7 separate regions of the Homo sapiens genome follow, and regions 2, 3, 4, 5, 6 and 7 are each linked to region 1. Evidence: promoter capture Hi-C in human tissues and cell types (Jung and others, 2019). All regions are on one chromosome and are shown on one strand. The core of a region is centred on a gene start or on the middle of the fragment in contact, and the rest is flanking DNA. Distances in the headings are between cores, read along the strand shown.

What was found. The method cuts DNA at HindIII sites, captures the fragments that hold promoters and counts their contacts. A contact is called where the count stands out against the background at its distance.
Region 2: a fragment that was not itself captured here is called in contact with the fragment with the promoter of MPPED1 in region 1 in 5 of the 25 tissues and cell types used here (H1 embryonic stem cells, IMR-90 fibroblasts, bladder and 2 more).
Region 3: a fragment that was not itself captured here is called in contact with the fragment with the promoter of MPPED1 in region 1 in 2 of the 25 tissues and cell types used here (dorsolateral prefrontal cortex and lymphoblastoid cells).
Region 4: a fragment that was not itself captured here is called in contact with the fragment with the promoter of MPPED1 in region 1 in 5 of the 25 tissues and cell types used here (liver, neural progenitor cells, pancreas and 2 more).
Region 5: a contact is called between a fragment that was not itself captured here and the fragment with the promoter of MPPED1 in region 1, in 3 of the 25 tissues and cell types used here (H1 embryonic stem cells, dorsolateral prefrontal cortex and lymphoblastoid cells).
Region 6: a fragment that was not itself captured here is called in contact with the fragment with the promoter of MPPED1 in region 1 in 4 of the 25 tissues and cell types used here (IMR-90 fibroblasts, dorsolateral prefrontal cortex, lymphoblastoid cells and 1 more).
Region 7: a contact is called between a fragment that was not itself captured here and the fragment with the promoter of MPPED1 in region 1, in 4 of the 25 tissues and cell types used here (H1 embryonic stem cells, dorsolateral prefrontal cortex, liver and 1 more).

The regions. Positions count from the first base shown.
Region 1 is chr22:43,410,122-43,413,360 of GRCh38, reverse strand. MPPED1 (metallophosphoesterase domain containing 1) reads right to left here and starts at 1,347. Exons shown (of 7, transcript NM_001044370.2): 1 at 1,203-1,347. The HindIII fragment of the contact is 18,974 bases long and covers 1-3,239 here.
Region 2 is chr22:43,249,228-43,252,323 of GRCh38, reverse strand. All of the region lies in intron 6 of SCUBE1 (signal peptide, CUB domain and EGF like domain containing 1), which reads left to right. Among named protein-coding and RNA genes, the nearest start is that of SCUBE1-AS1, 25 kb to the left of the region's middle. RefSeq lists a silencer at 581-769. The HindIII fragment of the contact is 6,663 bases long and covers 1-3,096 here.
Region 3 is chr22:43,644,651-43,647,943 of GRCh38, reverse strand. All of the region lies in intron 17 of EFCAB6 (EF-hand calcium binding domain 6), which reads left to right. It also overlaps the pseudogene YWHAQP2. Among named protein-coding and RNA genes, the nearest start is that of EFCAB6-AS1, 130 kb to the right of the region's middle. The HindIII fragment of the contact is 5,358 bases long and covers 1-3,293 here.
Region 4 is chr22:43,611,975-43,615,223 of GRCh38, reverse strand. The region is part of intron 21 of EFCAB6 (EF-hand calcium binding domain 6); the gene reads left to right. Among named protein-coding and RNA genes, the nearest start is that of EFCAB6-AS1, 97 kb to the right of the region's middle. The HindIII fragment of the contact is 4,342 bases long and covers 1-3,249 here.
Region 5 is chr22:43,627,939-43,631,119 of GRCh38, reverse strand. All of the region lies in intron 19 of EFCAB6 (EF-hand calcium binding domain 6), which reads left to right. Among named protein-coding and RNA genes, the nearest start is that of EFCAB6-AS1, 110 kb to the right of the region's middle. The HindIII fragment of the contact is 3,448 bases long and covers 1-3,181 here.
Region 6 is chr22:43,665,910-43,669,193 of GRCh38, reverse strand. EFCAB6 (EF-hand calcium binding domain 6) reads left to right here. Exons shown (of 32, transcript NM_022785.4): 16 at 149-322; 17 at 1,922-2,090. Among named protein-coding and RNA genes, the nearest start is that of EFCAB6, 140 kb to the left of the region's middle. The HindIII fragment of the contact is 4,657 bases long and covers 1-3,284 here.
Region 7 is chr22:43,218,805-43,222,083 of GRCh38, reverse strand. It overlaps SCUBE1 (signal peptide, CUB domain and EGF like domain containing 1), which reads left to right. Exons shown (of 22, transcript NM_173050.5): 13 at 795-911; 14 at 1,497-1,634. Among named protein-coding and RNA genes, the nearest start is that of SCUBE1-AS2, 7.8 kb to the right of the region's middle. RefSeq lists an enhancer at 1,336-1,837. The HindIII fragment of the contact is 3,980 bases long and covers 1-3,279 here.

The DNA.
Region 1 (3,239 bases), core at 98-2,597:
TTGACAGTGCCTGTCTGCCTGACCCGCCCCCGCCCCCCGGCGCCGCAGATCCCTGCTAACAAGTCTCCCAGTGCCATTCAACTCCCGTGAGCCAGCTCCGCCATTCAACAGCCAGCCCACTTTTGTTCCCCCAGTTTAATTTCATAATTGTTTGCCACTTAACAAGCTCTCCTCTGGGCCATTCAATAGAGCAGGGGAAATGGGGAGGGGGAAGGCAAAGAAACTCTGGGAGGGGAGCTGGGAGCCAGGCCAGCCCAGCACTGGGGAAGAGACATCCCAGAGAGGTCAGCTGGACAGGGGTGGGGGCCAGTTCCGGAGTGGAGCCTCCTGACACCAACTGGGCCACCCAGCTTGAGCCCGGAGAGGTGGGAGGGAAAGGAGCAGGGTGAGTTCCGAAGGCCAGGCCGGGGCCTGCCAGACTCCTGGGCACATCAGTGCTCTGAATGACACGCCTCTGGCCCTGCCAGGGTGAAGGGAGACAGCATGAATTCACGCTCCCGTAACATGTCCCAGAACAAACACACAGGAGACAGAACTGCTCCTTAGTTTGGGCATTCCATGATCAACATTCCCTTTGAGGGCTGGGACCTGTCTAGGTAGCCACTGAATCCCCTGGCCGAGCACATAGCAGACAGGAATAAATATGTGTTGAGTGAGTGGATGGATGGATGGATGGATGGATGGATGGATGGGAGGGAGGGATGAATGGATGGAAGGAAATGGATGAAGTTTCCAGCAATACCTAGCAAAAGTGGCCACTCGGCCAGCGTTCGTTCCCTATCTCTTCCCCCCCAAGTGCCAGCAGGGGCTTGGCAGCGCACACAGTAGGCTCTCTACAAGCGGGGGCTGCTATTGTTACCACTATCATCATCACTGGCACTCCACCAGCCCGCTGCTTCCACCAGCTACTCCGCCAGCAGCAGCAGCGACTGGCGAGCAAGGGAAAAGTTTCGCTGACCCCGCGGCCCCAGCCGGAGTCCCGCGCCCTGGCGGAGCCCCCTCCCGCCGCCGCCCGCTAGGCAGGCGGGGCAGCTGGGGTGCCCAGCCCGCTTCCCGCACCCGGCAAAGGCGGCCAAAGTAACTTTGCGGGCGCCCCTGCGCAGCGCCGCGGGCGTCGCCCAGCGCCTGGAGAGGGTCCCGGCCGCGCCCCGCGCCCGGCCTCCCGCCCGCGCCCGCCGCGCCCCGCCCGCCTCCGGTCCTACCTGGCCCCGGGCTCCTCTTCGGCGGCCGCGGCGGCTGCGAGCAGCAGCGCGCACCGAGGGAGGCAGGGGCTCCCGGGAGGGAGGCGCGCAGGGGCGGGGGCTCCTCCGGCGGCGGCCGCCTCGCCGCGCGTCCGAGGCTGCAAGTGGGAGCCAGACTCCTCCTTCGTGGGGCGGGGGGCTCCCCGCGCCCCCTCCGCCGCCCGCCCGCGCGCCGCGAGGCTCCGAGCCTCCTTGGCTCCCCCCGCCCGCCGCCGCCCGCCTCCCCACGCCCGCCCTCCCCGCCTCTCCGCGCCCGGCCGCCGGGAGGGGCGCGCTCGCGGCCTCGGTCCCGGCCCTTGCGCCGCCACCCGCCGGGGCCCCCGCCAGGCCCGCCAGGCCTCGGCCCTCGGCCCCCGCCCGGGCTCGGAGTCCGCATCCCGCTGCGGAGGGACAGGGAGCGCGGCCGCGGGCCTGGACGCGGGAGGAGGAGCGGGGCCCGCGCTGCGGAAAAGGGAGGGGGCCGCCCCACTGCGCCCGGCGCCCCTCTTGGCGCCCGCCCCCAGCCCCGGACCGGGCCGCGCGCGGGCTGGGCAGGGAGCGGGGCGGGGGCGCTCTCACCTCCGGATCCGTGGCCTCCGCAGCGGGCACCGCGTGCAGGGGCGTGCGCGGCTCCTTCCGGGGCGCCGCAGCCTTCGCCCGAGGCCCGGACCCCCTCCTGGGGCCGCCGGGGCACCCTGCTGTGGGCCCCTCCCGCCCGGGGTCTGGAAGGTCCCCCTCCGGAGACGGAGACACTCTGACCCCAGCTCCCAGTCTGAATAGGTCGGGGTCCTCCTCCTGGGCCACCATCTCTTCCACTCGGGAGTCACAGGTCCCCAATCCCGGGCACAGCAGGTAGCCTGCAGCGGCCGGAGCCCCAACGGGATGGGTAAACAAGTCAGGAACTCAGACGGCGCGACACCCAGTGTAAAGAGGCCCTGCCTTGCTGGGAAGAGCAGAGACCATCGCCTTCAGTGTCGGGGGTCACCCTGGGGAGTTTAAGGCCCTGTGGCTTCCAGCCCCTTGCCGCGGGTGGGACGGGGATTCCAGGGCCTTGTATAGTTAGGGTGCAGATCACTCTGGCCTGGGCCTCCCAGACTGAGAGGAAGATGAAAAGGGGCTGTGGCTCCTCAGAGGCCCAAAGCCCCTCAACAAATGCTTGTAGGGTCTCCCTTCACCAACACACACATCACACAATCCCCAAGGACACCCTCTGCGGGCCCCTCAGGCCTATTCTGCCCCTGAGGACTGCTATCTGGTGTGGCTTCCTGGAGGTGGGGACAGCCCAGTTGAATGAGTGTATGCCAGGAGAGAAGGCCTGGAAAAGACATCCAGGCCGAGGGAATGCGGCATGCAAAGGCCTTGGCATGTGAGTTCATTGGGGCTAGAGACAAAGGAAAAGCAAGGGAGGGAAGATGAGGTGGCAAGGCTGGGAGTGAGGGAACAGAAGCCAGATCGGGAAGAGCCTTGGATAGACTTTATCAGGGGCAGTGGGAGCCATAGAGGGTTTTTAAGCAGGGCTGTGACTTGGTCACGTTTATCTTTTTACAGCTTGTTCTGGCACCTCTAAAGACAGAGGTAGAGGGGGAGAGGCTGGGCTATGGAGGGAGAGGATGGAGGCCTGGGGCCCTCAGGCCAGAGATGGGGGGCAAGGGCTGGCCGAGGAGTCCTGAGGCAGTCACCCCCTCCTGCTTCCTTGTCTTTAGACCCCAATTCTCTCTCAGGGAATCCCAAACTCAACCCGGGAGCCTCTTTCTCCTCCTAGGCTACAGGCTTCCTGAGCACCGTGACTTCGAGGGAGGTGAAGGAGAAAACTGTCATGCCTGCCTGGGAAGGCGGCTTGGACTCAGTGTCTCAGCAGACCCCACCTGCCGCCTGCCTGGGACAAAGCCACAGCTTGGCTGTGGCCTCTGGAGATCACAAAGGACAGTGACAAATGTGCCTTCCTGGTCCCTGGGTCGAGAGCAGAGGTTCCTGTGACACTTGTCCTCCAAGGCCAGCTTCCCCACCACCTCCAGTCCT
Region 2 (3,096 bases), core at 559-3,058, 160 kb after region 1:
CAGCTGGGCAGGACAGAGCCGGGATTGTGGCTCCAGTGAGGGAGGGGAGTGCCCTCAATGGGAGGCGCAGTTGTAAGTCTAGAATGTGGCCGGAGAGAGAGAATACCTCGAGCACGGCGGCCTGGGCCACTGGGTTCTCGGCTGCACCCAGCAATTGCTTTTTGTGATAGTCACCCCAGTCCCTGAGCACAGGTGAAGAACGGAGTAAGTATGTTTACTTTAAAGAGGCCCCAGAACATGTAACCAATTGTAGACTCCCATTACAATCAGTTAAAATTGTCGGATTTGCAGGTTAAAGTGATAAATTTCAATTATCTGGGAGACTTACATGAAACCTCTGAGGACCCAGCGTGGGGTGCTGCATGGGAGCTTACCTCAGGCCCCGGGACCCTGCTTGTGGCAAGGCTGATGGGGTGCTACGCGCCACGCTGGTCAGCTCCAGGTCTTCAATCAAGCCCCTCTCCCTGGAGCATGCTTAGGATAGGTGGAGCATTCCGCTCCTCTTGCTGCTGCTAACAGATTCCCGCAATCTCAGTTGCTTAAGACGACGCACGTTTATTATCTTCTGTAGGTCAGAAATTTGACCTGGGGCTCACTGGGCTAAATTGAAGATGTCGGCAGGGCTGTTTCCTTCTGGAGGCTCCAGGGGTGCATCCCCTTCCTTGCCTTTCCAGCTTCTAGAGCTGCCCACGTTCCTTGTCCCGCGGTCCCTTCTCCACCTGCAGAGCCAGCAGCCTGACCCGCCCCAGTCCTCACAGCTCTGTTTCTGACCCACCTCTGCTGCCTCCCTCGGTTACTCTCAAGGACCCCTGTGATCACGCTGGGCCCCTCCAGATAATCCAGGATAATTTCCCGTCTCATGGTCCTTCAGCACATCTGCAGAGGCCCTTCTGCCAGGTAGGGTCACAGTTTCTGGGGATTAGGATGTGGGCATTTTAAGGGGGCATTATTCTGCCTAAAACAGATGGTTCTGCTTGGGCTGAAGGAACCCTCCGTTAGGGCAGAGCCCACACCTGCCCTTTTCACTGGCTGAGCCCCAGGACCATGAGCCTCCTCTGAAACCAGTCCTGAAGATGTGGGATGCACCCCACCCACTTCACGGAGCCTCCGCTGGCTGCCCCAGCTGTGGGCACCCACTCTTCCTCAGGCAGCCTTGGGGGTGTATCTTCAGCCCATTCCCTCTGCCCCGGCTCTCTCGCCTCACCAGTACTGCTCAACCCCTCTAGAGTTTGCAAGGGACTTTCCAGGCAGCTTTCCAGTGAGTCTCCCCCACAGCCCTGGGAGGCAGCTATCCCCACTTCACAGATGAAGACCCTGAGGCCCTGAGAAGGGAGGCCACATAGCCAGTGAGCAAAGCCTGGGCCAAAGTCCCAGCCCTGTGGACTCCCAAGTCCGGGGCCCCAGGTTAGGAGCAGAACAGGCCTGAGGGACGCGGTTCTGCAGGCCCAGTAGCATTTCTGGCTGTGATGTTCCTCCTGTGGGCACGACATCAGCAGAACTCACAGCCAGCCCATTCCAGGGGTCCCACCACCCCCATGAGAGCAGTGGGGCCTGAGCTGCAGGCTAGGGACCCCAATCTGAGTCGGCCCTCAGCCTGAGCTCCCTCTGGGCCTTGCACTCTGCCCCGTGTTTACCTCAACCTCACAGCCACCCTGAGAGCAGTGCGAGTGTTTTAGAGATGACGACATGGGGGCACAGAAAGGCAGCTGGGAACTCCTCTCCCCGCACCCCTGAGGCTGCTCCTGCCTGGCTGCCTGAACTGCTCCACCTTGTCCGATATAGGCCCAACCTTCTCTGCCTCCTCTCTGGATCTGGCCAGGAGTGAGTGCTTGGCGATGCTTATGGAGGTCAGAGCAAAGAGGAACACTGCCCAAGAAGCAGTGCCTGGCCTGAGGGGACCTTGGGTTCCAGCAGGGACAGGGCCCCCTGAGCCTTCCCTGTCCCTCCGTACTATTAGAGCCATCTTCATAAGTTTTCCCCAGGCCAGTGCCAGACAAAGCCTGGGAGCAGTCGCAGCATCTGTGACTCCCTTGATCAGCAGACACTGCCTGGGCATCTCCCGGGAGACAGGGCCCTAGACCTGCAGGAGCCCCCAGGCGTCCAGAGGAGAGGGAAAAGCTTCGGTCATGGAGCAAGGCCTGGGTACCAGTTCTGTCCACTCCCTGGAAGCTTTGCTTGCTCAGGCGAATTTTTTAACTTCCCTCAGCCTGTTTCCTCAGCTGTAAAATGGTGATCGTGATAGCGTGTACTTCCTATCGATTTGAGGATGAAATGAGTGACTAAGTAGCAGGTGCTTAGCGCGGTGCCAGGCACGTAGGAAGCACTCACTGTGCATCAGCTGTGTGACGCAGTTGGGGCACTGAGGTGCAAAGCACCAGAAAGGGAAGCCGCCAGGGACAGATCTGCAGGTGAGCAGGCAGGGCCAGGTGGAGTCCCAGGCTTCCCCTGGCTTTTCCCCGCCCTTCTGCCCCTAGACCTGTCTCCCCAGCCATCCCGCCATCTATGTCCTGGCCACCCCCAGCCAAGCCCTCTGGGCCGCGTGGCTGCACTCAGGGCCCACTGTCCTGCTGGCAGGGGGAGAAGAGAGGAGCTTTCCCACTGCAGCTCACGGGGCTACAGCCTCACCCCTCTGAGCCCCGGGTTTCCCGTCCCCCAAATGGCCATGACCTGCTTCACCCTGCCAGGCTCAAAGGAGCTGGAAGGGAAAGAAAGGATGGAAGGGCCCAGCACACAGGCCAGAGCTTGGTAAGGGGCTGCTCATCCTGAGAAAAGCAGGCAGGGAGGCTGGAGAACTGGGAGGCCAGGGAAGACCGAGGAGAGTGGAGGCCACTGTGGAAATGGTGGCTGACACTTAGGGGGCACACACTGTGTCCCACACTGTCCCCAGCATCATTTAAGTGCACAGCCACCCTGAGCGGCATGGCCAATGTCACTTCTCATCGGGACATGTGCATTCCTGCTTCTCCCCGCTAGCTCCCCTCCACCCCAGCTCCCGTCCACCCCAGCTCCCCTCCACCCCGCCCGTACCTCCTCTTCTGCAGCGACCATCTCCAGGGTCCCGGGTGTCCCTGATTTCACCAATCTATGTCCCAGTCC
Region 3 (3,293 bases), core at 56-2,555, 230 kb before region 1:
CGAAGCCAGGAGTTTGGAATCAAGGTGTCAGCAGAGCCATGCTCTCATCTGCTGGCTCTGGGAGCACGCTGCATTGTTTCTCCCAGCTCCCAATGGCTGCCTGCCATCCGGCATCCCTCGGCCTGTAGCTGCGTTGCTCCAACCTCTGCCTCTGGCTCCACATGGCCTCTTTGGTCTCTTTCTTCTTTGTCTGCATGTCTTCACATCATGTTCTCCTCTCTGTGTGCCTCTGTCCAAATTTCTCTCTTGTTCTAAGGACACCAGTCATTGGGTGAGGTACTACTCTCATCCAGCACGACTTCATCTTAACTTGATTCCAACTGAAAAGACCCCAGCTCCATTAAAGGTTACATTCACTGGAACCAGGATTGAGACCTCATTATACCTTTTGGGGTACACAATTCAACCGACAACAATGTATAACCCTTAAAATAGGGCCTGGCACCTGAGGGCTGGGACTTGGCTGTTTTGTTCACTATTGTATTCCCAGTTCCTGGATAGAACCTGTCAGAGATGCTCAAAACATCTGTAGAATTAATTAATAATTTATCCGCTCTTTGTCTTCTTCAATACAAATATATTTTCCAAATATATCATGTCTTTTTGTTTTGTTATAGTTCCATATTTTGCCATTACAATGTTTTCAGTTTTTATACAACCAAATATTTCTATTGTCCTTTTTTTTCCCTAAATAAATTCTAGGTTTGTAGCCATGGTTAATAGGTGTTATTCCTTCATCCCCCACCCCCACCCCCACCTCAGTCTCCTAGACTTTCTTACAAGAATTTTATTTGTTTTTGTATAGAATGTTTTTAGAGCAGCTTTAGGTTTATAGCAAGATTTAGTGGAAACTACAAAGTTCCCGTATACCCCTGTCCCCACGTGCACAGCCTCCCCCACTAACAACACCTCTCAGCAGAATGCTACATTTGTTACAGTCTATGAACATGCATTGAAATTATTACAATTTCTTGCTTATAGAACAAGTGAAATGTCTAGGTCAAAAGAATATGCACAGTTAAATGTTTAATGCATATTGCCATATTACATTTCCAACGATTCTATCAAATTCATTCCTACCACAAGTGTTTGGTAGTTACTAATTTCCAAATGTTTGCCAACTTTGGGTAGAATAAAAAAGTTTAATATATGCTAACATATCAGTCAGAATTATAGTCATTACTTTAATTTGCATTTCTTTGATTTTAGTTAGCCTGAACTTCTCTTTCCCATTGTTTTATCAGAGAATTTATTTTTATTTTTAAATGTAGATGCTTAATCCATGTGGAATTAATTTTTATACTCGATGTAAGATGGGGCTCTTCTTCTATATTTCCTTACTGAATTAGACTATTACCTTTGTCATTTATGACATTCTCATTATGCTAGGGTCTACATCCGAAAACTTTCATCCCACTGATTTATACATCTATTTCTATATAAATGCAATATGGCTCTTTAATTTAGTAAAACAGGTCTTTTCTCAGTGTTCTTCCTTTTTGTATTTTCTTGGCTATTCTCAGGCCAGGTTTATATGTTACCATATAGACTTTAAAATCATTTTATTCAATTACCCCTCAGATGCATTACTGGGATCATAACTGGACTTACATTACATTTATATGTTGGAAATGTATCTGCTCTTGAAATCAGCAAGAGAGAACATAAAGGCGTGCAGAGGCTGAGTGACAGAGAGCCCTGGGATTCTGCAGGGGAAGTGGCTGCTTAGCATCGGCTTTTCCTGTTGCGCCCATTTGTCCTGAGCTTTGAGTTTCTTCCCACTTACCCTTTGAACGACAGATTTGATCTCCAGGACTTGAGCACAGTCTCCTCTGAAGTTGAAGTAGGCACGACTTGTCTGCTTTTATCTGCCATGTTCAAAATCTGTCATTGAAGTACTAAATTCACTGCCCGCAGAACACGCTGAGATTTTACATGTGTATGTAGACCCAAGCTGGGTTCTGGATCTTTGCTTCTAAAATGGACATGTCTGGTCAATGCATTAGTTATGCCTGGAATTCCCCTTGACATTGAAAGGTGGTCATGTCACCTCATCTTTCAGTCTCAGTTTTTGTTTTTGTTTTTTTTTTTAGTTTTAAAATGTCCACTTTATTCCATATAACACTTAACCAGATATCATTTACATCTGAGGAAGAGATGGCCCATGAGACTGATCTATAGTAAAACACTCTAAGAAATGCAGTCCAATTTTATACATTTCCAGGCATCCCTAGACAAGTGTGTCACAATGCACAATGCGGAAATATACGTATCACTACTACATTTTACATAAAAGGGAAGTATCAATAAACTTTAGAAAGTAGTAAATTCACCTGTCCCTTAAAATATGGGTATGCAATTGTTACAAAGCCATAGTAAATGGTTTATAAAATGTACTTTTATTTTATGTTACTCTGCTGTTACATAGGGCATAACATTTTCACAAGGCTTTTTTGGGACTACAGTCAATGATTAGCAACACACAGTAGTGGTCCAACTCTCTAAATAACAATCACTAGACAAACTGGACACCCTCTCACATGTGCACAAATCTGCATGGAAAAGTACTAAAGTTTTAGACTTGGACTTGCGTACTTTTTTTCCTCTTTCTAGTGTATTAAGAAATGACATGCACTTTAATTTGCCAAAAGCAATGCTTGTATTCTGGCAGCAACATGCTACTTCTATCACATAGTAAAGTGAATACCAGAACTACAAAGGCAGGAGGTGTAAGTGAATTTTTATTGGGAAGGGAGGTTGGCAACTTAAACAGCAGCAAATAAAGAGTGAATAAGGAAACTCCCTGTTGCCACAGATACACAAGACCTCCGTATGTGATACAGGAGCCATTTCAATTTGTGACCCCTAGACAGAGATGGCAAGTGCTTTTCCATTCAATCTAATACTTCCGGATTCCTACTAAAAAGGAATACATTAAGAGCATGGAAAAGTTGCTTATTGAAAGGAAACCCCCGAAGAGTAAGGGAGGGAATGTAGAAATTAAGAAGTTATGTGGAACACTCTTTAAATTGCAATTAACTACATTTTCTTATTTTCACAGTAATACAAAACACAGTCACTTGCAGAACTGGTTCAGATTACTCAGTCTCAGTTTTTGAAGCTTGCACTTAGGTTCAGCATTTTGTCATTCTGTGCCATCTAAACACAATTCTAGTCTTTTAGTTTTTATGGGAATAATATATTTAAGAAACAAAAACCAAACCAGCTTATCATTGTCATCATTTTCATTGTCATGATCATGCCAGCAGCAAAGAAGAAAAGAAAACATGAAC
Region 4 (3,249 bases), core at 724-3,223, 200 kb before region 1:
GGAGATCACCACTTTATAATGCAACAAGAATGCAATAGCTTCCCTCTAATAAGTATTTTTTAAACTGCATTATGGAAATATTTTCACATTATTTTGAAAAATACCTCCACTTTGTTTCACTTGGTCATTTTCTTTCTGTGTGTGCTCTTTCTTGGCCTGTGCCCAGTGTGAAAAGAATTTTGTCTTTGAAGTCCTGCTAACCTCCAGGGACTGTCTCTACCCAACCTCCTGTCCTGCACAGAGTGGACTGTCTGTGCTGTGGACTCCATAGAGTGGACTGTCTGTGCTGTGGACTCCATAGAGTGGACTGTCTGTGCTGTGGACTCCATAGAGTGGACTGTCTGTGCTGTGGACTCCATAAAGCAGACTGTCTGTGCTGTGGACTCCACAGACAGGACTTGCTGCACTGTGGACTCTATAGAGTGGACTGTCTGTGCTGTGGGCTGCATAAAGTGGACTGTCTGTGCTGTGAACTCCATAGAGTCAACTGTCTGTATTGTGTACTCTATGGAGTGGACTGTCTGCGCTGGCCCACACCAACCAATCCCACAGACTGGAGCTCTGTGTGGCCCACTTTCAGAGCAGCCCTCTAGGTTCAGGGTAAGGAAAGGGTCGGGACTAGAACCTTTCATGGATTGTATCTAACAAGTCACTGCCAAACTCAAGGTCATCTAAATTTTCTCTTATGCCGTCTTACGAGAGTTTCATAGTTTTGTATTTTATAATTAGGTTTGTGATCCATTTGAGTTAATTTTTGTGGAGGGTATAAGGTCTGTGTGTCTAGATTCATTTATTTAAAGGTGGATGTCCAGTTGTTCCAGCACCATTTATTGAAAAGACTGTCTTTGCTTTGTTGAGTTGCCTTTGCCCCTTTGTCAAGGGTATGTTGATTATGTGGGTCTGTTTCTGGACTCTCTATTGTGTTCCATTGGTCTACTTGTCTTTTCTTTAACCAGTACTACTGTCATGATTACTGTAGCCTTATAGTAAATCTTGGCCATCAGGTAGTGTCAGTTCTCCAAGTTTGTTCTTTTTTTTTTTTTTTTGCAGTATTGTGTTGGCTATTCTGAGTCTTTGCATCTAGAATAAGTTTATGGATCTCTACCAAACAATTTGCTGGGATTGTGATTTGGATTGAATTGAACCTATATTTGATGCTATTGAGCCTTCCTATCCATAAACATGGAATGTCTCTATTTAGGTTTTGCAAACATTAAACATTTCTCGTCAGAGTTTTGTAGTTTTCATTATATAGCTCTTGCATATAAGAGCTCTTGCAAATAAGACCAGGCTGGTTTGGAATTCCTGGCTTCAAGTGGTCCTCCTACCTCAGCCTCCCAAGTAGCTGGGATAACAGGTGCATACCACCATTCCTGGCTAATATTTTATTAGATTTATACCTAAATATTTCATTTTGGGGGGTGCTAATGTAAATGGTATTGTAGTTTTCTTTAACTTTTATTTTAGGTTCAGGGATATGTGTGCAGGTTTATTATATAAGTAAATTCATGCCGTGGCGGTTTGTTATACAGATTATTTCGTCACCCAGGTACTAAGCTTAATACCCAATAGTTATCTTTCCAAATCCTCCCCCTCCTTTCCCCCTCCACCCTCAAGTAGGTCTCAGTGCCTGTTGTTCCCTTCTTTGTGTCCATGTGTTCTCATCATTTAGCTCCCACTTGTAAGTGAGAACATGCAGAATTTGGTTTTCTGTTCCTGCATTAATTTTCAAAGGATGTTAGCCTCCAGCTCCATTCATGTTCCTGCAAAGGACATGATCTTATTCTTTTGTATGACTTTGTAGTATTCTATGATGTATATATTCCACAGTTTCTTTATCCAGTCTACCGTTCATGGGCATTTAGGTTGATTCCATGTCTTCACTATCATGAATAGTGCTGCAGTGAACATACCCGTGCATGTATCTTTATATTTGTGTTATATAAATATATGATATGAATATATTTGCTGTATAAATATATGATATGAATATATTTATGTAACAAATATATTTCTATAACAAATATATTAATATATATGTTATATAAATAAATTATATAAAATATTTATATATGATATTTATATATTTATGTTATATAAATATATTTATATTTATATATTTAGAATGATTTATATTTCTTTGGGCATATACCCAGTAATGGGATTGCTGGGTCGAATGGTAGTTCTGTTTTTAGCTCTTTGAGGAATTGCCACACTGCTTTCCACAATGGTTGGACTAATTTACACTCCCACCAACAGTATATAAGCGTTCCCTTTTCTCTGCAACTTTACAGCATCTGTTTTTTTTTACTTTTTTTTTTTTTTTAATTGAGATGGAGTCTCACTCTGTCTGCCAGGCTGGAGTGCAGTGGCATGATCTAGGCTCACTGCAACCTCCGCCGCCCAGGTTAAAGTGATCCTCATGCCTCAGCCTCCTGAGTAGCTCGGACTACAGGTGCATGCCACCATGCCTGGCTAATTTTTTTGTATTTTTAGTAGAGACAGGGTTTCATCATGTTGGCCAGGCTGGTCTCGAACTCCTGACCTCAGGGGATCCACCCGCCTTGGCCTCCCAAAGTGCTGGAATTACAGGTGTGAGCCACCACACCTGGCCGACTTTTTAGTGATAGCCATTCTGACTGGTGTGAGATGGTATCTCATTGTGGTTTTGATTTGCATTTCTCTAGTGATCACTGATGAGCTTTTTTTCATATGATTGTTGGCCACATGTATTTCTTCTTTTGAAAAGTATCTGTTCATGTCCTTTGCCCACTTTTCAATGGGGTTGTTTAAGTTCCGTATAGATGCTGGATGTTAGACCTTTGTTAGATGCATAGTTTGCAAATTTTCCTCACATTCTGTAGGTTGTCTCTTTATTGATAGTTTTGCTGTGCAGAAGCTGTCAAATCTAATTAGATCCCATTTGTCAATTTTTTCTTTCGTCATGAAATATTTCTCAGTTCCTATGTCCAGAATGGTATTGCTTAGGTTGTCTTCCAGGGTTTTTATAGTTTTTAGTTTGACGTTTAAGTCTTTTATTCATCTTGAGTTTATTTTCTGTTATAAGGAAGGGGTATTTGTTATAAGGAAGGGGCCCAGTTTCAATCTTCTGCATATGGTTAGCCAGTTATCCCAGCACCATTTATTGAATAGGGGAATCCTTTCTCCATTGCTGGGTTTTGTCAGCTTTGTTGAAGATCAGATGGTTGTAGGTGTGCAGTCTTATTTCTGGGCTCTCTATTCTATTCC
Region 5 (3,181 bases), core at 308-2,807, 220 kb before region 1:
AGCAGCCTGGGGGGCTGTGGGGAGGGCAACACCCCATTTCCTGTGCTCTGAGGCACCTCCCCAGACTGATCACCCCTGGAGATTCATTTTGGTTACCAGGCTCCCGTTTCCACATGCCCGTGTATTTATGACATCAGTCCAGCTTAGACTTTCTAGCAGGGCTCAGATTTTGAACATTCTGTCCAGTTTTCAGAATGTGCATCCTAATTTTTGGTTTGAAAAAATATGATCGCCATATGCATACATGGAGACGGATTGGTCCTAATGATCTCATCCAGGCTAAGTGGCCAGCCAAGAGGAGCACTCTGGGAACCACTGGCCTGTGGGCTCCAGCGTGGAGGAGGCAGGGGTCATTTAAGTGGGGAGTGCCTGGTCCTCCAAAGGAGAGCCGAGCTGGGTGGGAGGCAGCGGCCGCTGCAGGGAGAGAGAGCAGAACGGAGGCAAAGGCTCCAGGAGCAGACTCCCTTCTGTGCTGGTCGGCAGGGCCTCCACGGGCACCCTAACTGTAGAGGCCTGGCAGCTGCCTCACTGCACCTTGCCCATTGCAATGCAGGCCCCTCCCTGTTCCCTCTCTCAGACTCTCTCCTCTCTTCCTCACACACTCCTCGCGTCTCCCAGTGGAGGCCGTGGGAAGCCCAGCTCCACGCTACATCGTTGCTTTCCTATCTTTACGATCAGTGAAGCTTGGCTACAGCCAACGTATATCCTGTGTTTTCCAAAGAGATCTCTATTTTAAATAATGAATTCATTCAACAGACCATCACCGACACCCACTCTATCCCGCCAGAGAATTTATCAACTAGTGGGTGAAACAGAGGAGTGAACCCCTAATTGCCAGTTTTTATGTGAGACAGACTGGATGCGGGTTATGTCCGGGGCTCGTGAGGACTTGGCTTGTGTCCTTGCAGGTATACGCAAAGTGGACAAAGCACGGGTCTCAATTTTTTAATGGGATGGTACAGTCACTTTTTTTGAATTTTTTTGGTAGAGACGAAGTCTTGCTACGTTGCCCAGGCTGGTCTCAGACTCCTGGGCTCAAGCGATCCTCCGACCTCAGCCTCCCAAAGTGCTGGGATTACAGGCATGAGCCACTGTCCCTGGCCTCATATATCTTTTAGAAACAAATAGGATTAACCTGTCAACCCACAAATAGGGTCACAGTACACTCAGTTCTCTGCAACTTCACTTTGCACTTCACAATTCGTCTTGGACTCCTGGCCCTCGCAGGATTGTCTCATCCATGTGCATCTCTGACCGGAGTGCCCACTGTGCTCTCAGGATACATCCTGCTCCCGCCTGGCCGGCCCACAAGACCCCTCACCCCCTCACCCTTTCCTGCCTCTAAGCGTTTGCACATTCTGTTCCTTTGCTTGGATGGCGCCTCCCCTTTGACCAGTGGACTCCTCCCCAAGCTTCTGTCCTTCTCAAGCCCTTCACATCAGCTGAGAGGTTGCCACTGCACATTCCCCTCTCTCCTCACGTCCCTCATAGCACACAGCCCGCAGGGTGCTGCAGTTAGATTCAACAGTGAGCCCCGAGCCATTTCTACATCATTCACCACAGTAACCCAAGGGGCTGCCACAGTGCCTGCCACAATGCACATGACCGATTTGTATTTGCTGATTGAACACACCACACCTGATGCTGGGCAGCGAACTGGAGGGCCACACACAGGGCCTTGTGTGTTCTGACACCCGCAACCACCCTGTCAAGTAGGTTTAATGTTCCCGTGTTATGCTGGATACCCTGAGGGTCAGAGACGGGGAAAAAGTGACACAAAGCCACACCTCTAGTACATGGCACCGTCAGGAACTGAAATAACACCGGCTCGATTCCAAAGCCTCTGTACTACGCACTAACATTGGGGAAGCTGAAGACTGAGATTTGAGGAATGATTAGTTTATAAACTTGTGAAGATTAGCCATGTATGATCTCATAGCATCTAGCTTGTCCCTGGAGTCCAGAATCCAGGCTGGCCCCACCTGGCCCTCACACCTCTGTCCCTGCAGTAATCACGCTGGATTGCCATGATTTGCTTCCTGTCTTGCTTCCCTAGTAGATAGACAGTGAGGACCTGGGTGTCAGGGCCCACGTTGCAGTTATGGTGTCTGTGTACCCAGCAGAGTGCTTTGTGCCTAGGAAATGCTGCTCCTTCATGTCCAGCAGCCCCATCTCACAGACGTTATGGTGAGCATGGCTCGGAGAGCTGGAGCTGCAACAGGGAACAGATCAGAGCCCAGACTCATGCTTATGTTCTAGGGGGAAGTGCAGTGGACACAGAAACCTCTACTAGATCAGGTGGTGACATGTGCCAAAGAGAAAAGTAGAGGATCGTGGGAGGCCAGTCAGGGCTGGTGCCATTGTACAGAGGAGTCAGGAAGTGCCTCTCTGGAGAGGGGACACTCAGACACAGTCATGAAGGAGCCAGAGTGAGCCCTGCGGACACTGGAGAGGGCTCCCTGCGATACCCTGAAGCAGGCTCGGCCTGTTCAGAGAACAGTGAGGGGACGGGTGGGATGGGGGTGTAGACAGGCTTGTGGGCCACGGCCAGGCCTTGGCCTTGGACTCTGAGTGAGAAGGAGAGTCAAGGGGGTTGAGCAGAGGCGCCTCATGCATGACGTCAGCTGTAAGGGATCGCTCGGGAGCGATTGCACAGAGCAGAGGCCACGGAGCCGACGATGGCAGCTGGGAGCCATCACGAGGTTCCTGCAGGACTCCAGCGACCTTGGGTGGGGGCCGAGGTGGTGTGCCTGGGAGAGGGGGTCCAGTGCTAATGCACTCTGAAGGGAGAGCCAGCGGGATGTGTGGGCAGACTGGATGTGGGTGTGAGAGGAAGCGAGGGCTCAGAAGGGCTCCCAGGTTTGTGTCTGAGCAACCAGGAGGAAAGAGCTCCACTTACTGAGATGGGAAGACTTAGGAGGAGTAGGGTGGGGACAGGGGGTGGAGGTCAGGAGTTTGATTTGGGCCATGTTCAGTTTGACATCCCAGAGAAAATGCCCCCAGACCACTGGAGATGTGAGGCTGTGGGTCAGGGGGGTGGCGGCTTGGGGCTGAGAGTATAGAGGGAATCATCAAGAAACAGATGGGCCTGCACCCCAGGAGGCCCCCTCGGGCAGAGTTAGACATCAGCCTCCCTGCCACACTGTATTGTCTTCCGGAGGCAGGGGCGGCATCTTTTAAA
Region 6 (3,284 bases), core at 392-2,891, 260 kb before region 1:
AAGAATGGAGTGGTTGTACCATTTTACATTCCCACCAGCAGTGGATGAAAGTTGTAGTTACTTTCATCTTCACCAACCCTTGGCAGGGTCAGTCTTTTCCGTTTTAATTACTCTACTGAGTGTGTTTTAATTATTTTTTAAAATTCAGACTCTGCAGTAAGATTCAGGACATTGGTTCAGGAAGAATCCTTTACAAGAAACTTTTGGCATGCATAGGAATTGATGGCCCACCCACTGTCTCTCCAGTTCTTGTTCCAAAGGATCAGCTGTTAAGTGAACATTTACAAAAAGATGAACAGCAGCAGCCAGATCTTTCTGAGAGGTAAAATTAAGCAAAATGAATGCACATATCAAAACCACAGTGTCTGTCATGGAATAGGTATTTAGTAACTATTTGTCAACTGAGTATTTTAATATTTCATTTTATAAATAAGAAAGATGGCACACTAGAAAGACAGTAATTAGAGTCAGGGAATTTTAGAGCAAGCAGAGATCTTAGGAATTATTGAATTTACCTTTTAAATTTAGAAATGAAAACACTGATGTCTGAGAGGTTTGGGGACTTGGCTCACAAACTTAGTGGCTGGCCTGGGTCAAGAATCTGGGACTCCTGACTCCCAGGGACAATCTGTAACTTCTCTATTACATACCTGCATTCACATTTACTCTCTTCCAGAAACTTAGATTCCTTGCCACTATTTAATATTTATTGCAACACACATCCATTAAATCAGTTAACATTTTTTAATATGAATGATAGAATGATTAAACTGATTTCCAAATTGAATTGTAACAATAAAACATACTTAGTAAATCTATAAAAAATTAGCCTGATGAATATTCTAGCTCTTCTTCATTTTAAAAATACAGGTTTAGTTTAATGAAAAGATATTATTCTAACTTGCTCATTCATTGCTTATAATAAATTCATAATGAAAGGTAAAATGTAGAACTATTCAGCAGACTTCACTTTGTCATAGCCCTTTTAAAAAGTTCTTAAGTAAAGAGCAATGGGAATATTTTAATGATATGCTAATTAAATTTGAATACCTGGGCTTTTCAGTAGTAGCAGCTTTATAAATGGGCATAAAGATGGTATTTTAAGAGACGGGTTAAATATTCCATGATAAGATATGTTTGCTTCCTAAAACTGGTGAAAGAAGCAATGGCAATTAAACATTTCATAAAATGTAGCTTTCCCAGAGAGCTCTTAAAAATCAGGAGACGCAGCGGGGAAGGAATAGAAGTCCATTCTCCATGACTGTCTCAGGGCTGTTTTTTCCCCAAAAATATGGGGCGCAAGAGACTTCCAGAGAGCTGAGGAAATAGCTGTCCTCCGAACACCCACGCCCACATGCTCAGACACATCCACGCTGAGACTCACAGAACAGCACATTCAATTTGTATTTTATAAATCAAGCCGATTTGTGGAGTAACTGTGGACTTCCCTTCATTTCCGTGGATGTTTGATGACTTCCTTGATCTAGTTACCACAAAACAGCCTATTTCTTTCATTTAAAGCTTTCTAATGGGCTCTGACTTTTAATTTTTCCACTTCACAAAAAATATCCTTTTTCAACCCTGTGTGCCCGGTCACATGCCACCTTCGGCCAGCTCAAAGCATAACTGAAAATCTCGAGGACCATAATATTCTCTCCCTGCAAGTTCCCCTGTCCCCAGCCTGCCACTGTACATGGGCTTTCACTTGGACACTGTGCTGGGGACCTCCAGTTCTGGCCCTGGAACCTACCAGCCAGGGGAGGGTAAGAAGCCCCTGAGTCACTCCACCCTTCCCAGCTAGTGAACCGAGGATGGGAAACCTTCTTACTGTCATGGGTTACATGGAAATGGGTGCAGTCTGGAGGAAGCACCCTGCGTGTGTCAGTTGACACTGGGTCTAAATGCCTGCTTGTGATTTTAGAACCAAGCTCACGGAGGATAAAACCACCCTGACCAAGAAGATGACCACAGAAGAAGTGATTGAAAAATTCAAAAAGTGTATACAGCAGCAGGACCCGGCATTCAAAAAACGATTTCTTGACTTCAGCAAGGAGCCTAATGGAAAAATTAACGTGCATGACTTTAAGAAGGTAGGAGAATGGGTTTCTCTTTGTTTCTATCCTGCAGAAGTTCAGCTGTTTTCTTATACTAACATACTTTAAAGGACAATGGCTTATCCCAGGACGCAGCAGATCCATTTCTAGGCATCTTTCAACAATTTAAAAGGATTTTTTTTTTTGGCCAAAAAATTGTCATTGGCACATTTCTTAGAGAATACTTTCAATATGGATGTGGCCAGCTTTTGATATTTAAGCTTTTACATATCAGAAGCATTTATTGATGCGGTTTGGCTATCTGCTGCATACCTGGCACTGTGCATCATTGGGCAGCCTGCGGGTGAGAGTACAAAGCCACTCGGCCCCTGCCTGCCAGTGGAGAGTTTCCAATCACAGAGCTATGGTTTGTTCCTCTAGAATGAAAAAAAAAAAAAAAAAAAAAAAACAATCTGGCAGTGAAATATGGGAAACTCAGAGTGCTGATTTGCATGTGCTTATGGGAACTGGTGAGTTTCTGCCAGAAAGGGCTCAGCTTGAAGGGTTCTGCATAGACTTCTCAGGAATTAATTTAAATGATTGCTTAAAATTCGTATTACGATCCCTCTAGCTAATCATCCTCAGCTATTTTTAAGGAAAGCATTTCAGTTAATATGTAGCAGTGTCCATGTGGACAAATTTAGAAGAAGGCAATAAAATATATTTCCAAGAAGAGTATAATTACATTAGTGGCCCCTTCATCCGGTGCCTGCCCCACTGCCGGACATTGGAATGGGCTTTTTATGGGTCTTATTTCTAAGCCTCCAGAATGCAGCATCATGGAGGAGCATGGACTGGAGGACGGAGCAGGGCTAGAGGCACAGAAATGGGATTAGGTAGCTACTGAAATAGTCCAGACCCTCTCCCCTCCCCAGCCAGAACAAGACAAGACGTGGAGGGTCCTTTGTTGTATGAGCATATGGGGAGAGCCAGGAGAATAGATTCAAGAAGGACTCAGAAATAAGGAGTTGAGGATAGGAAATGAGGGATAGGACATAAGACATAAGGGAATAGGCTAGGTGTGGTAGCTCACGCCTGTAATCCCAGAACTTTGGGAGGCCAAGGCAGGTGGATCACGTGAGGTCAGGAGTTCAAGACCAGCCTAGCCAACGTGGCGAAACCCCATCTCTACTAAAAATACGAAAATTAGCCAGGTGTGGTCACGCACGCCTGTAATCCCAGCTATTCAGG
Region 7 (3,279 bases), core at 344-2,843, 190 kb after region 1:
TTATTATTATTATTATTTTTAAAACGGAGTCTCGCTCTGTCACCCAGGCTGGAGTGCAGTGGCGTGATCTCGGCTCACTGCAACCTCCGCCTCCCAGGTTCAAGCAATTCTCCTGCCTCAGCCTCCTGAGTAGCTGGGATTACAGGTGCCCATCACCACACCTGGCTAATTTTTGTATTTTTAGTAGAGACATGGTTTCACCATGTTGGTCAGGCTAGTCTGGAACTCCTGACCTCAAGTGATCCGCCTGCCTCGGCCTCCCAGAGTGCTAGGATTACAGGCGTGAGCCACCGCACCCTGCCCATTTCTATATATTTAATGCATATGTGATTTGATTCTAAGCACCTGTGGTGGTAGGATTCTTTAGTCCAAGGGCTATGATTTGCTCTTGCAAGGAACCGGCAGTCCTGGATCTATAGTATTTCAAAGCCCCTTCCCTTCCTTGCTGTCCTATCTCTCTTCTGTTCTACGCTCTTTCCTAAAGCACAATCATGGCTTGCTGATGGGGAGGAGGTAGGAGGATCCCTGTCCTCCTTCTCAGAAGACCTCTGGCGGGTGGCCCCTGGGCTTGAGCTTGACCCCACCATCCATGTGTTCACCTGTTTTAGGCCTTGCAGGGAGAGAAATGGGGCAGGAGAGGGTCCCCCACCCCAGGAGAGCTGTCGGGGCACAGGGACTCAGATCAAGCCCCACCCCCAGCTCCAGATGGATTTGTCCCCTGGCAGCCCCCGTCCCCCACCACCTCCTTGCCTGCAGGAGAGGCCACCACCTGGGGGAATTTTGGCTTTCCCCAGATGCCCCCACCACCCCCATCAAACAGAAGGCCCGCTTCAAGATCCGAGATGCCAAGTGCCACCTCCGGCCCCACAGCCAGGCACGAGCAAAGGAGACCGCCAGGCAGCCGCTGCTGGGTGAGTGGGACGCCCTGCTCCTAACCCACACCAACGGGGCTGTAGGAGAGTCCTCATGCCTGGGAGCTGGGGCCCCAGGGTCCAGCGAGTCTGGTTTCCAAGGGTGGAGGTCTCTCTCACCTGGCAGCTGTTTATTGAATGAGAGTTTCCAAGGACATTGCAGGCTGGGGAAACAGCGGAGGGCAAGCTTGGTACGAGGGGCCCCGGAGGAAGGCACCAGCTCTGTCCCCGTGAAGATTCCTTCTCAAACCTAACAGAGCTCTCAGCACGCAGCAGGCTCTGCCCAGAGCCGAGTCTGCACTGGCCAAACCCTCAGCAGGCCCAGAGCTGGGGGCACAGCCTCATTCATGAATATGTATGAGATGCCTCCACCTGCAGCAGCGTGATGGACCGGGCGTGAGACCTGGCTCAGCCACCAGCCCCTCCTGAGACCCCGAGCCAGCCCTGACCTTCTCTAGCCTGAGTTTTTCCGTCTGCACCACGGACCAGGAAGTCCTTGCCAATGGCACTCTGTATGCAGGGCTTGGTAGGACCTTGCTCCCTGCCCCATGCCGCCTTTGCCACAGTGGTCCTTTCCTCGTCCAGACCACTGCCATGTGACTTTCGTGACCCTCAAGTGTGACTCCTCCAAGAAGAGGCGCCGTGGCCGCAAGTCCCCATCCAAGGAGGTGTCCCACATCACAGCAGAGTTTGAGATCGAGACAAAGATGGAAGAGGCCTCAGGTAGGTGAGGGGTTCTCCTGGGGGCTTCTGCAGGCCTGAAGGAGGACGACAGGCTGGTGGCGCTGCCGGGGGCCTGCCAGGCATGAAGCTAGGCTCCCACCAGAGCACAGCTGTGGCTGGGATGGGAGCCCAGCTTCTGGAGACAGAGGCAGGCCCACAAGCAAAGGGAGCTGGCAGGGGTCAACGCTTGCAGCCCAGGATAGAAGAGGCAGCCCAGGGCAATGAGACAGAAGAGCCGAGGTGACCTCAAAAGTCACATGACCCTTATCTGCCCCTCCACACTCCTGCTGGGACCCGGGAGGACAAATAGGTGCAGCCCCCCTAGAATGGTTGAGCCAAGGATTGTCTTTCCTGGTTCCTGAAGGAGGTTCTAATGCTGGCTCGGGTGTCACAGCAGCACTTTGCTCTTGGCTATATGTGAGTGTCAACCTGTGAGTCGTTGATGTTGAAGAGATGGGATCTGTCAGCAGATAAGTGTGGTATGGGCCTGGCTGTGGGCTTGGGCGCTGTGGAAAGAAAAGTCCCCACCCAGGTAACACTCTCAGCCAGAGAGGCAGACGCACGTGCAAACCACCCATTGCCAGGTGGGACTCTCGGTGGTGGGGGCACAAGAACAAACAATGCATAGAACTGAGGTCTGCCCCCCACGGGAGGGCTTAGGAAATGTCTTAGTCTGGCTGGGCACACTGGCTCACGCCTGTAATCCCAGCAGTCTGGGAGGGCCAAAGTGGGTGGATCACTTGAGTTCAGGAGTTCAAGACCAGCCTGGCCAACATGGTGAAACCCTGTCTCTACTAAAAATACAAAAATTAGCCAGGTGTGGTGGCAGGCACCTGTAATCCCAGCTACTCAGGAGGCTGAGGCAGGAGAATCGCTTGAACCTGGGAGGCAGAGATTGCAGTGAGCTGAGATCGCGCCACTGTGCTCCAGCCTGGCGACGAGTGAGACTCTATCTCAAAAAAAAAAAAAGGAAATGTTTTAGTCTATTTGCGTTGCTAAAAGGAACACCTGAGGCTGCATAATTTATCAGGAAAAGAGCTTATTGGCTCTCGGCTCTGCAGGCTGTCCGAGAACACGGCAGCAGCATCTGCCTGGCGAGGCCTTAGGCTGCTTCTGCTCACGGAGGAAGGTGAAGAGCAGCTGGCATCACATAGCAAGAGTAAGGGAGCAAGAGAGAGGGGAGGGGGTGCCTATGTCTTCACCAGTCACATCTCGTGGCGACTAGTAGAGCCAGCAAGAACTGACTACCACACCAGGCCATTCATGAGGGACCTACCCCATGACCCAGACACCTCCCACCAGGCCCCACCCCCAGCATTAGGGATCAGATTTCAACATGAGGTTTGGAAGAGACAAATATTGAAACCATATCAGGAAGCTTTCCCAGAAGAGGTGCCATTTGAATGAGAGCTTAGAATCAAAGCTCACTGGGTGGAAAAGGTGGCAAGGAATGGCATTCAGGCAGAGGGAATAGAATAGGCAAAGGCACAGAGGTCAGAGAGAGGAGGAGGTGTCCAGGAAGCAGTAAGTAGGGCCAGGTGGCTAGACATTGGAATCCACAGGGAGTGTCAGAGTGGAGGGGATGAGGCTGGCAAGGCCATACGGGGCTGGACCTTGAAGGGCCTTGGATTCAAGGCCAGAGAGC